3 separate regions of the Homo sapiens genome follow, and all the other regions are linked to region 3. Evidence: promoter capture Hi-C in 16 types of primary human blood cells and fetal thymus (Javierre and others, 2016). All regions are on one chromosome and are shown on one strand. Each heading gives the region's core, a stretch centred on a gene start or on the middle of the fragment in contact. The rest is flanking DNA. Distances are from core to core; before and after follow the strand shown. Region 1 has its middle 39 kb from the start of LINC00997. Region 2 overlaps KBTBD2 (kelch repeat and BTB domain containing 2). Region 3 holds the start of BBS9 (Bardet-Biedl syndrome 9).

Region 1 (4,326 bases), core at 1,210-3,709, 330 kb after region 3:
TTTAATAGTTGATAGTACATACAATGCAGTTGTTTATTGACTTTTTTTTTTTTTTTCAGAGATGAGGTCTTGCTCTGTTGCCCAGGCTAGCCTTGAACTACAGGGCTTAAGTGACCCTCCCACGTCAGCCACCTCAGTAGCTGGGACTGCAGGCATGAGCCACCAAGCTTGGCTTATATTGGTCTTTATCTTGTAATCCGGCTACGTTATTATTTCTAGAGTTTTTGTTTTGTTTTTTGAGACTCCTTCAAAGCCATATGCCTTTTCATTTTTCCTTAAACTATTGAGGGTTAAATTTTTTCTTTTCCTTGTCTTATTGCCTCAGTTAGGACTTCCAGTACAATTGTGAATAGAGGTGGTGAAAGCTGACATCTTTGTTTAGCTCCTGATGGTAGGGGGAAAGTTTTCCATCTTTCACTATTATACATATTAGCTGTAGATTTTTCATAGATGTTCCTCATCAGGTTGAGGAAGTTTCTTTCTCTTCCTAATTTGGTGAGTTTTAATCATAAATGGGTCCTCTAATTTGTCAAATAATTTTTCTATGTATTAGTCCATTTTCACACTGCTATTAAGAGCTACCTGAGAGTGGGCAGTTTATAAAGAAAAGATGTTTAATTGACTCACAGTTCCACATGGCTGGAGAGGCCTCAGGAAACTTACAATTATGGCAGAAGGCAAAGGAGAAACAAGCCATATCTTACATGGCGACGAGAGAGAGAGAAGAGAGAGAGGAGAGAGACAAAGGAGAGAAGGAGAGAGAGAGAGAGCAAGTGCAAAGGGGGATGTGCCACACTTTTAAACCATCATATCTAGTGAGAACTCACTATCACAAGAACAGCATGGAGAACTGCCCCCATGATCCAGTCACCTCCCACCAGTTCCCTACCCTAACATGTGCGGACTAAAAATTCCACATGAGGCCGGGCGCAGTGGCTCATGCCGGTAATCCCAGCACTTTGGGAGGCCGAGGCGAGCGAATCACCTGAGATCGGGAGTTGGAGACCAGCCTGACCAACATGGTGAAACCCTGTTTCTACTAAAATACAAAAAATTATCCAGGTGCACAGGCGTGGTGGCGCACGCCTGTAGTCCCAGCTACTAGGGAGGCTGAGGCAGGACAATAGCTTGAACCCGGGAGGCGGAGGGTGCAGTGAGCCGACATCACCCCACTGCACTCCAGCCTGGTGACAGAGCAAGACTCTGTATATATATATAAAAAAAAATTCCACATGCGATTTTGGTGGGGACACAGAGCCAAACCATATCAGTATCTATTGGCACAGTCCTATGGTTTTTGTCCTTTATTCTGTTAGTATGGTATGTGATTTTCTGATATTAAAGCAATCTTTTATTTATGAGATAAACTCTACTTGTTTATATCATTTTTATATGTTGGGAAGTTTTTTTTTTTTTTTAATTCCAACTCATTTGATGGTTATTTGACAAATCCTTTCTCCATGGTGTCAGAGACATTTCAGTACTAATTAGAATTCCAAAATAGTTGCCTGAATGACTTTACTGAAATTAAATTTTTCTTCATGACCTATACACTCCTTTACATAGGTTTTGTTCAGTTCTGTGCTTGTTATGTGCCACACACTTTTAGGTGTTGAAGATAAAGAGATAAATAGGGTAGACACAAGCCCTTGCCCTCACAGCAGTGAAGACAATCAAAATGACTAATACAGTTGGGTGTTAAGTAATATGAGGTGCATTTGAAATTTAAACAAAAGGAACCAAGATAGAATTTTTGTTAAAGCCTCCTGGAGGAAGTTACATGAGGTGTAAATTGAACTTAACCAGGGTTACCATATCATTTACCATCCAAACAGGCACACTTTTGAGAGTGATAGTGAAAACAAGCATAAACTAGGATGTATGGTTACCTAAGATTTAACCAGTCCATGGGGAATGGTGCTTAAGGCAGAAAAAACTGTATGAAAAGAAGGCCCATTAAAGTAACTAAAACATTCAATTTGGTCAGTTTGTAAATTGTGAAGAAGGAAATTAGTCCAGAAAAGCAAGCAAAGACCAGATTCAAAAGGCCTTATAAATCAGAAAATAACCTGGATTTTATTTCAAGGGTAATAAATGTTCTAAACAAAAGCATGACATTAAAATTGTATTGAAAAATATCTGATTGCAGTGTGGAGAAAATGTGAGCAAAGAACTGCACCAAAGAGATCATCTGGGGAGGGAACGGAGAGTGGTATGGGGTTTTGGGGGTCATGAAAATGTTACACAATGGATTGATAGGTGCACAACTCTGTGAATACTCTAAAGATCAATGGATTGTACATGTTAAATGGGTGAAATGTATGGAATGTGAATTATAGCTCGATAATGCAGTTAATTTTGAAAAACGGATCACTTAGAAATTTATTAAATTCTCCAGGTGACAGATGATAGGGGCTCGATTCATGTGTTAGAAGTGAGGATGAATTCAAGAGATTTGAGAACCTACCAGGCCTTGTGACGGACAGAATTCATGGAGGTGAGGAAGAGGGAAGAGTCGAAGTTGACTTTCAAGTTTCTACCTTAGAAAGCCAGTGGGGGATGGTGCCACTTACTGAACCTGAACCACAGGCAGGTGTGGGGTAGATAAGAGCCAGAGGTTCTTCAGACATGTTAAATTTGAGACCTTTGAGATATCCAAGGTGGATATCCAAGGCAGACTCTCAGGTAATGGTCTGGGCGGTGATTCACTGTAATGAACAAGACTGCCTACGGCATGTATGAATAGAGGAAGGCCAAGATCTGAGATGGTTAGAGGTGAGATCAGCAAGAGGCTGAGAAAATCCCAAGATAGGAAGAAAACCAGGGAAGCATAACATCAGAAGTCCAGTTCAGAGTGTTTCACACAAAGTGTTCAGTGTGGATTACTATCATGTGTCAATGAGACAAGTAGCCTCTGAACTTTAAAAAGATTGAAGTTTCAACTTCAGTGGAGTGATAGTTGCACAAATCACTCTCACCTCGGTTCAGTGGAGAATTGTGGTTCATCGGAAGACAAGGCATGGAACAAGGTTTGTGAAGGGGAGAAGAGGGAAAGAGTTGAGGCGAGAAAGATCTTTGTTTTTAAAATGGTTTGGCTGTTTTTCCTTTAGAGAGGTTAAAGATATTGAAGAAATGAGCAGGCTGCATAAAAATCAGCTAGGAATGATCGTTTAAAAGTTAAGGTTTGGTGGCTGGGCGCGGTGGCTCACACCTGTAATCCCAGCACTTTGGGAGGCCAAGGCGAGTGGATCACCTGAGGTTGGGAGTTCAAGACCAGCCTGACCAACATGGAGAAACCTTATCTCTACTAAAAATACAAAATTAGCCGGGCATGGTGGTGCATGCCTGTAATCCCAGCGACTCGAGAGGCTAAGGCAGAAGAATCGCTTGGACCCGGGAGGCGGAGGTTGCAGTGAGCCGAGATTGCGCCATTGCACTCCAGCCTGGGCAACAAGAGTGAAACTCAGTCTCAAAAAAAAAAAAAAAAAAGTTAAGGTTTGGCAGGCCGGACACGGTGGCTCATGCCTGTAATCCCAGCACTTTGGGAGGCTGAGGCGGGTGGATCACAAGGTCAGGAGTTCAAGACCAGCCTGGCCAAGATAGTGAAGCCCTGTCTCTACTAAAAATACAAAAAATTAGCTGGGCATGGTGGCAGGCACCTGTAATCCCAGCTAATGGGGAGGCTGAGGCAGAGAACTGTTTGAACCCAAGAGGCGGAGGTTGTAGTGAGCCGAGATCACACCGCTGCATTCCAGCCTGGGCGACAGAGACTCCATCTCAAAAAAAAAAAAAAAGTTAAAGTTTGGCGCCAGGTGCAGAGGCTCACGCCTGTAATCCCAGCACTTTGGGAGGCTGAGGCAGGCAGATCACTTGAAGTCAGGAGTTTGAGACCAGCCTGGCCAACATGGTGAGACCTGTCTCTACTAAAAATAGGAAAATTAGCTGGGCACGGTGGCGGGCACCTGTAACCCCAGCTAATGGGGAGGCTGGAACAGGAGAATCGCTTGATCAGGGAGGTGAAGGCTGCAGTGAGCTGAGATCATGCCACTGCACTCCAGCCTGGGTGACAGAATGAGACTCCCTGTATGTCTGTGTCTACACATGGCATTCTCCTCTCTGTGTGAGTCTCTGTGACTCTTTCCCTCTTATAAGGACACCAGTCATATTGGATTAAGGTGCACCCTAATGACTTTATCATAACTTGATTACATCTGCAAAGACCCTATTTCCAAATAAGGTCACATTCTCAGGTACCGGGGTTAGGATTTTGGCATATCTTTTTGGAGACGCAATTCAACCCGTAACAGTTGGGAATATCTTTCTTAC
Region 2 (4,878 bases), core at 1,925-4,424, 260 kb after region 3:
GTCCAGCCTACAGGTAAGCATTTTTTTACTCAGTTACATACATGAGTTGTAGCTTATTGGTTTATTATGTGGTTTATTTTGTGAGGAAACATTGTTAAACATTTTTTATTTATGTTTTTGAGATGGGGTCTCGTTCGGTCACCCAGGCTGGAGTGCATTGGTGCAGTCATGGTTCACTGAAGCCTTGAACTCATGGGCTCAGGTGATCCTCCTGCTTCAGCCTCCTGAGTAGCTGGGATGACTAAAGGTGTGCACCACCATGCCCAGCTACTATTTTTATTTATTTATTTATTTATTTATTTTTATTTATTTATTTTTTTGAGACGGAGTATCATTCTGTCACCCAGGCTGGAGTCTAGTGGCGCGATCTCAGCTCAGATGCAAGCTCCGCCTCTGGGTTCATGCCATTCTCCTGCCTCAGCCTCCCGAGTAGCTGGGACTACAGGTGCCTACCACCACCCCCGGCTAATTTTTTGTATTTTTAGTAGAGATGGGGTTTCACCGTTGTTAGCCAGAATGGTCTCGATCTCCTGACCTCGTGATCCACCCACCTTGGCCTCCCAAAGTGCTGGGATTACAGGCATGAGCCACCACTCCCTGGGCCAATATTTTTATTTTTTGTAGAGACACGATCTCACTGTGTTGCCCAGGCTGGTCTCAAAATCCCAGGCTCAAGCAATCCTCCTGCATTGGCTTCTCAAAGCCCTGGGATTACAGGTATGAACCACCATGCCTGGCCCAGTAATGTCTTTTATCTATGTAATTTTCTTATTACGTGTTTTAGAAGGTAAAAGGTTTTTTTCTTTTTACAAAATGTGTAAGGGAAAAACAATAGGATTTGATTACCCAGTAAACTAAGTAGTTTTGTGATGGGAATGTAAATCTGTTAATAAAAGAGATAGGTGAAAATTTTATACTGGTTTCGTGTGTTTTACTACCTAATATACCTGAGAATTTTGATTTCAAGTTAAAGTAATTTTTTTTTGAGACGGAATTTCACTCTTGTTGCCCAGGCTGGAGTGCACTGGCACAATCTTGGCTCACAACAACCTCTGCCTCCTGGGTTCAAGTGATTCTCCTGCCTCAGCCTCCTGAATAGCTGGGATTACAGGCATGTACCACCATGCCCAGCTAATTTTTGTATTTTTAGTTGAGGTGGGGTTTCACCACATTGGCCAGGCCGGTCTGGAACTCCTGCCATCAAATGATCCACCCGCCTTGGCCTCCCAAAGTGCTGGGATTACAGGCATGAGCCACCACTCCCAGCCAAATTAAAGTAATTTTTAACAGTGTTTATTGAATTTAAGTGTTTCAATTTTTTTTTTTTTTTTTTTTGCTTAGAGCTTAGATATACTAATTTTTCATGGTACTATTTTTCACAGAAAACTTGGTGGAAATTATGATAAATATTTATAATGGCTATGTGACCATATTGAGCAATTAAGGAGAAGTATTTAAACAAAACAAGTGATGGTTGATATATTTATGTATGACAAACTGTTTTACTCTTTATTTCCCCATCATGTTCCCTTTTTAAATTTTAAGAGGAATATAAGAGTTTTTTTCTTCATTTCATCTCCTGTTTTGGAATAACACTGTATTTCACTAAGTTTCTTCAGAGGGAGAACCTTTAGATCAAAGGTTAAATTTGGAGAGCACTGTTCGTGATATTTGTTAAGTACTTAATAAATATGCACTGAATGAGTATGCATGACACTGGTTGAATGCCAACACCTGGGTATAATTCTGGAAACCAGAACTCAGTTCATGCTTTATGTAGTCTCCTTCCTTTTTAATCTTCCATAGGTTGAGTACCCTTTATCCAAAATGATTGGGACCAGAAATCCAGTTCAGCCAGTTTCAGATTTTTTCAGATTTTAGGATATTTGCATTATATGTTAGATTTACATCATCCCTAATCTAAAAATCTAGACTCTGAAGTGCTCCCGTGAGTATTTCAAGTGTCATGTCAGCACTCAAAACATTTCAGTTTTTGGAGCATTTTGGATTTTGAATTTTTGAATTAGGGATACTCAACTTTTTGTGTGACAGGGTCTTGCTCTGTTGTCCAGGCTGCAGCACAGTGGTGAGATCACAGCTCACTGCAGCCTCGATCTGGGCTCAAGTCATCCCCCAGCCTTAGCCTCCTGAGTAGCTGGGTCTGTAGACATGCATCACCACACTTGGCTAATTATTTGATTTTTTTGTAGAGACAAGATCTTATGTTGCCCAGGCTAGTCTCAAACTCTTGAGCTCAGGCACTCCTCTCACCTAGGCCTCCCAAAGTGCTAGGATTACAGGTGCGAGTTACAACACCTGGCCAACCTTTACTCCTTATTACACTAACTTTATCGTTAGTGTTCTACTCTACCCACAACTCTGGGGAAACTGAGGCTGGGGTAGCTTGCTGGTGCACTAGTAATTCCAAACTTGAACGGGAGAAATGCTTATTGGAAGCACTGTCTTTATATAGTTTGCAAGTTGTCATTACTTTTTATTTTTAGAGACATGTCTTGTTCTGTTGCCCAGGCTGGAATGCAGTGGCATGCCACCATGCAGTGGCATGGTGATAGCTCACTGCAGTCTCAAATTGCTGGGCTCAAGTAATCCTCCTCCCTGTAATCCCAAAGTGCTGGGATTATAGGCATGCACCAGCACATCCAGCTAATTTTTTGTTGGTCCTTCTTTTAAAAGCAGGCATTTCTCAGAATTACTAAGGCATTAAGGAATTTTAAGAAAATCTGATTCCAGAATACTTTGTTACTGTAAATATTGACACTGCTCCTTAACATTTTTTTTCTGCCATTTTAACGAAAACCGTATACTACTTCTGCTTGCTCAAATGCAAAACAGGACTCTGCCTCTTAGACTGTGTTGCCCTGGAAGCCTGAGATGGGGCATTCTATGACTACCAATATTACTTTCACTATCAACCACATGAAGTGATCATATGTTTCAGTACCAGATGGTGTACTGATACTTTATATATATTCTCATCTGATCCTTACAGGGCTCATTTGAGGGAGATAACTATTATTTCCCCATTTTATATAAGAGAAAATTGAAGTTTAGAGATGTGAAGCTTCTTTCCTAATAAGTAGTTTCCAGGTACTAATTGGCCAATTAAGTTTTAAATCCAAGCAACCTGACTTGTCAGTGTAAACAGTTTCTAGTTAATCACTGTGATGCTGAATAAGTATAGTGGGTAGCACATCTGATTCAACTGAGATCTACCTTCTTAAGAAAAAACAAATCTAGGAAGCTTACAGTGGCTAAGATGGGTCATTTAAATGTAGGTGATTTATAACTGCACGTAAGTCTATTTCGTGTTGCTTTGTTATCTTACCTCTCGATAAGAATGGCAAATAACTACTCTTACTCATTGTGCATGATTTTCTGGTTTTATGTGACTGTGTTCAAATTGAGGAAACCAGAATCCAGTTATTCAACAACAATAATTTTCTCTATACTATGATTTATTTACATTTTTTCATATAGTTCTCTCAATTATATATAAAGTCTAGGAAAGTATGACTTATGTGTGAATTTCCTTACCTATTCTTTAAGGCTGTTTTGTTTTTTAAGAGCCTATTTATTGTTGTACTGCTGGTTCCTAAATAGAACAGTTAAGTAGGCCACTGAGCAGGAAAAAATACTGCAAAATTTTATAGTCTTCTGAGTTTATTACTACCAGAAGACCTTATCTCAGCCCAGATGTGTGTATCTGAAAATAAAAATTACACTATGGGCATCTGATTAATATACTTACGTCTTACATAAAAGTAAAATGTGTCTGTCCTGGCCCTATCAGCCTGTTTTTTTTTTCCTTCTCATTCTAGGTAGAAGATGTGTTACAACGTTGTCGAGAATATTTAATTAAAAAAATAAATGCAGAGAATTGTGTACGATTGTTGAGTTTTGCTGATCTCTTCAGTTGTGAGGAATTAAAACAGAGTGCTAAAAGAATGGTGGAGCACAAGTTCACTGCTGTGTATCATCAGGACGCGTTCATGCAGCTGTCACATGACCTACTGATAGATATTCTCAGTAGTGACAATTTAAATGTAGAAAAGGAAGAAACCGTTCGAGAAGCTGCTATGCTGTGGCTAGAGTATAACACAGAATCACGATCCCAGTATTTGTCTTCTGTTCTTAGCCAAATCAGAATTGATGCACTTTCAGAAGTAACACAGAGAGCTTGGTTTCAAGGTCTGCCACCCAATGATAAGTCAGTGGTGGTTCAAGGTCTGTATAAGTCCATGCCCAAGTTTTTCAAACCAAGACTTGGGATGACTAAAGAGGAAATGATGATTTTCATTGAAGCATCTTCAGAAAATCCTTGTAGTCTTTACTCTTCTGTCTGTTACAGCCCCCAAGCAGAAAAAGTTTACAAGTTATGTAGCCCACCAGCTGATTTGCATAAGGTTGGGACCGTTGTAACTCCTGATAATGATATCTACATAGCAGGGGGTCAAGTTCCTCTGAAAAACACAAAAACAAATCACAGTAAAACAAGCAAACTTCAGACTGCCTTCAGAACTGTGAATTGCTTTTATTGGTTTGATGCACAGCAAAATACCTGGTTTCCAAAGACCCCAATGCTTTTTGTCCGCATAAAGCCATCTTTGGTTTGCTGTGAAGGCTATATCTATGCAATTGGAGGAGATAGCGTAGGTGGAGAACTTAATCGGAGGACCGTAGAAAGATACGACACTGAGAAAGATGAGTGGACGATGGTAAGCCCTTTACCTTGTGCTTGGCAATGGAGTGCAGCAGTTGTGGTTCATGACTGCATTTATGTGATGACACTGAACCTCATGTACTGTTATTTTCCAAGGTCTGACTCATGGGTAGAAATGGCCATGAGACAGACTAGTA
Region 3 (4,576 bases), core at 1,223-3,722:
AGGCATAACAGATTAGTTTCTAATGCCTTATTAGAATAATAAATGGGAGATAATCTCCTTATCCCCTAAACTCCAGAAATTCTCTTCTATACTCTTCACTTGACACTTTTTTGTTTTGAATACTTTTTTTTCTACAACAAGTTTACTCAGATTTAGGTTTCATTTAAGAGGTGGCTGACCTTTTTTTGCTGACCTTCTGAATTTAATTTGCTATTGTTCTTTTTTTAATATTTTAAAAAGTTTTAATAATTTTTATTTTTTCTGCCATGCTCGGCAAAGACGAGGTCTCACTATGTTGCCCAGGCTGGTCTTGAACACCTCATTGACCTAGTCCTACAATATGATCAGCTGTGAAAACAATAACCCCAAAGAATGCTGTGGAAAAAACATACAGGTTTGAAGGTCAGTTCTGGAAACAGACCTTGCAGCTGTTGTTCATTTTCAGAGCTTTGCTTTCTCCAGGTTATGCCAGTGTCACACCAAATTTAAGAAAGTAGAAATCAGGTCTTCCAGTCAAAGAAAGATGACAAATGCATGTAGTGTTCAAAAGAAGTATACTGCTTTTGAAGGCAATAATACAAGGGCTCACTGTTGGAATTTTCAACAAAAGACTCAAAGGGCAAAATAACACAAAATTTGGAGTAGGACAGCTCTGGGTGCACTTTCTGACCACGTTACACTACATGATCTTAAACAAGTCCCTTATCCTCTAGTATCTCAATTGTTCTAGGGTGGAGGAGGATAAAATGGCTCAACCCATAGCAAGTACTCAATAGATGTCAGTAATAACCCAACAGTAGAAACAGTGCTAGTAGGAGAGACAGTGGTAGTAGTGGTAGTTGAAAGAGACGGTGGTAGTGTGTTCTGTGCAAGACACAATTACGAATGCCAAACTCACCCTCTGGACCGAAATTTTAAATGGGACTCACAAAGACTGATAGTAATCACTAATGGAAATGTTATTAACCAGCAGGGATGTTTTATAATAATTTCATGTATTTTAATAATTTTCAAAAATATTTCAAAGTATTCTAAAGCGTAAGACTTACTACATCCCTCAAAAGGTGTAAAAGTTTTAAAATTACTATATATACTATTGCTGTTGGATTTTTTCCCTTCAGTGAGCATTTCTATCAAGAAGTTGTACCATAAATATAAGTGTATAGTTGTAATTTAACCACGACAATTACACACAAGGAAAAATCCCTTAAACTCTGACAAATAACTTGTAACTTATTTTCAAAATAAAGTTTTTTAAAATTCTTCTTTAAAAACTTCTGGGTTTTCTAGTTTTTTTTTTAATTCTTCCGTATATTCATGAAAAAAATCTCAGTAATTGTTTTCTTTATAAAATGCTAATAAGTTAGAAAATCTTTCTCTGAATGCTGGCCAACTTAAGACCCATAGCTTATCCTGCAGCATCTTTCAAGTTGTTTATCAATGAGGACATGTAAGATGTGTATACCTGTAAGATACGGTTTCATTTTTAAAGTAAAAGTGAGATACCCAAAAAAATACATTTCTCCAGGAAATTGAAGTCAAAGGCAGGATTTGACTGGCAGGAGGTGCTGATAAAATCAGCGCAGCTCATCTAAACTGTTGTGGTCTCCAAGTAACAAGAGGAGAAACAATAATCCTATTACTAGAAGGATTGGGGGTATTAGTACATGCATCCTACTTCAGTCGTAGGCTGGGAACTGCTTTGCCCATTTACTCACAGACCTGTTGAAGTGTCTCAGGAGGATGCTCATGCTCCAAGTGACATTCCTCAATGGAATCCTTAAAAATTCTCATCCCTTTTTTCTCAAAAGTACTCACAGAATCTCATACACTTTGTGCTCCTAGTGTTTGTTTATTTCAGTGCAAACATCTAAGAAATCAATCACCTTACAGACTCCAAACCATTATACTGCATTAGAGAATCTTGTTCACAAAATAAAACATGGAAAGGGTATTCATGTACCCGAAGTTTAACAACAGACATACCATCTTACCTGATGCCACGTCAGATGAGCTCTGCCCCACCTTTCTGCGAACCCTCGTTCGGCAAATTTTGCTTTATGAACGCCTGACAAGGTCCCAGTGATGGAGCAGAGGGAGCAAGAACGGACGGTGCAGAGAAAAGCAACCTTTAGCTTCACTATTCCCTCTCGTCCTCCAGCTGAAAGTTGTTCCACGTCCCGGGCAAAGAGAGAGCCCCACCAGGCAGCACCACCAGCTCCACAGAGTTGGAGTGATTCCCCCAAGAAGCTCCCCTGCGCCCCCCGTCACCCCCAGAGACCAGCAGAGGAAACGGCATCTATCCCTTGGAAGACACTAGGCAGGCGAGAACAAATGCAAGTCCTGCTGCTCACACCGAGGAGGAAAGGATGGAGGAGGCGGTGAATGGGATGTAGCAGAAACCCGACGGCCGCAGCGGAAGGGACACCTCCCCTCTCCAGCCTAACTCTGAGCCATCTTCGCCCTGTTGTCATAGCACTTACAACGGACGCCACTGCGCAGGTCACGCCGTGCCGCGCCGACTTCTGGGGGCTGGAGTCCAGAGAGGCTGAGGCGCAAAGGCGGGGACCGACTTCTGAGAGGGCCGCGGTTGGAATTAGATTGCTACTGGGGCGGGGCTCGAGTGAACCACGGCCTGGTCCTCATTAGCAGAGAGTGATAATTACTGCAATCCTCTGCCCTGTCCTGGCAGCAGTTCCTTAAGGAAGACCCTCCTCCTGCCTGGGCTCCGGGGGCAGGCCACGCCCCCCCGGCCGCGTGACCGCCCTCTCCCCTCGGTGCGTGTGGGTGGGGCCTAGTGGGGGCGGGGCGTCACTGGCTTGTCCATGGTGCTCTGGGATCCTGCGCTTCTGAGAGTCCCAATCGCGGTGTTTTTTTCCTGCCGGGACACTCATGAGGGCCCCGTCCATGCACCGCGCGACCGTGGCGAGGGTGGTCGCGGTAGCGAGCGCCAGCGTGTGCGCCCTGGTGGCGGGGGTGGTGCTGGCCCAGTACATATTCACCTTGGAGAAGAAGGCGAGGCGGAAGACCAAGATCATCGAGATGATGAAGCTTTTGAACAGTTTCCAGTTTTTCCTTTTTTTACTATTTGAAACAGCGCTGCTTTGAAGTTACTTGTGCCTGCGTCCTGATACACATGTGTTAAATATATTTTCCGTATATACCTTAGAGTGCATTTCCTGGTATATGGGATTGGATCTATGTCTTCTTTTGTTTTTTACTTATTTTTTTTTAATCTTTACATTCAAATTCAATGTAGCCAACCTTGAAGTTTTTCTTGTTTGCTTTTTTCAATGGATTCTAGTGTAGGCTTTAAATTTCCAGTATTTCACCATCAATCCACAAATCCACATTCCCAGTAGAAAATACCATTCTAGTTTTAGTTTTTTGGGTTTTGGGTTTTTTTTTTTTTTTTAACTGAGACTGGGTCTCCCTGACAGGGTCGCCTAGACTGGAGTGCAGTGACAGGATCACTGCTCACTGAAGCACTGAAGCCTCAGCCTCCCGGGCTCAAACGATTCTCCCACCTTAGCCTTCCTAGTAAGCTGGGACTACAGGCACAGACCACCACACCTGGCTAATTTTTGTATTTTTTGTAGAGATGGAGTTTCGCCATGTCCAGGTTGCTCTCGAACTCCTGGGTTCAAACGATCCACCCACCTCAGTCCCCCAAAGTGCTGGGATTGCTGGCGTGAGCCACCGCGTCCGGCCTCAATATTTTTAAAAATGACCTTTCAGTCAAAGCCTTGGTAATATAACCAGTTTCCAATTGTATTCTGCTATACAGAGAGAGCAGATTTTTATTAGACTTATTGAAATGACCATATTACCATAAGAAGACTCACAAATGGTTTTCTAATTATGGAGGAATCAAGTAAAGAGAAAAAAAGTTTTTATCTTTTTTTACACAAGTATACTCTATCAAATTGCTGTAAATTATAAATAGCTTAAAAGACAAGATTTTCTTAAATCTGGAAAAAACTATTTGAGTAAAGAACCAACAACATTTGAAATAATATCATAAAAACATTGTCTTCATTAGTTAAACTCACGTAATTAATTCTTGTTCTGCCTGATCTTGATTAATAGTTTCATGAACCCACTTTTTTATTACAGTTCTGGAAATTGTTATATTGTCCATTGATCTTCAAGTTGTTAGAAACCCAAATCTAAGAGTATATTTTAGGGCCAGGCACAATGGTTCATGCCGGTAATCCCAGCAATTTGGGAGGCCAAGGCGGGAGGATCATTTGAGGCCAGGAGTTGGAGAAAAGCCTGGCCAATATAGTGAAACCCCATCTCTACTAAAAATACAAAAAATTAACCCAGCGTGGTAGCGCATGCCTGTAATCCCAGCTACTCAGGAGGCTGAGGCATGAGAATCACTGGAACCAGGGAGGCAGAGGTTGCAATGAACCAGGATCGTGCCACTGCACCCCAGCCTGGGCATCAGAGCAAGATTGTCTCAAAAATAAATAAATAAAAATAAAAGAGTACTTGTTAGAATATTTTCCAGGAGTCTGTTTTTTAAAAAAGAATTCAAAACAATAATATGGATGACAAAAACTTAAAATAG

Evidence for each region. The method cuts DNA at HindIII sites, captures the fragments that hold promoters and counts their contacts. A CHiCAGO score of 5 or more calls a contact.
Region 1: a contact is called between a fragment that was not itself captured here and the fragment with the promoter of BBS9 in region 3, in 2 of 17 cell types (neutrophils and M2 macrophages). The highest score is 9.6, in neutrophils.
Region 2: a contact is called between a fragment that was not itself captured here and the fragment with the promoter of BBS9 in region 3, in 8 of 17 cell types (neutrophils, activated CD4 T cells, total B cells and 5 more). The highest score is 8.8, in neutrophils.

Annotation. Positions count from the first base shown.
Region 1 is chr7:32,794,908-32,799,233 of GRCh38, reverse strand. No RefSeq gene overlaps it. Among named protein-coding and RNA genes, the nearest start is that of LINC00997, 39 kb to the right of the region's middle. The HindIII fragment of the contact is 4,579 bases long and covers 170-4,326 here.
Region 2 is chr7:32,869,842-32,874,719 of GRCh38, reverse strand. KBTBD2 (kelch repeat and BTB domain containing 2) reads left to right here. Exons shown (of 4, transcript NM_015483.3): 4 at 3,840-4,878. Among named protein-coding and RNA genes, the nearest start is that of KBTBD2, 19 kb to the left of the region's middle. The HindIII fragment of the contact is 180 bases long and covers 3,085-3,264 here.
Region 3 is chr7:33,127,460-33,132,035 of GRCh38, reverse strand. BBS9 (Bardet-Biedl syndrome 9) reads right to left here and starts at 2,472. Exons shown (of 23, transcript NM_198428.3): 1 at 1,995-2,472. RefSeq lists enhancers at 2,410-2,519, 3,010-3,059 and a silencer at 2,570-2,869. The HindIII fragment of the contact is 9,509 bases long and covers 1-3,053 here.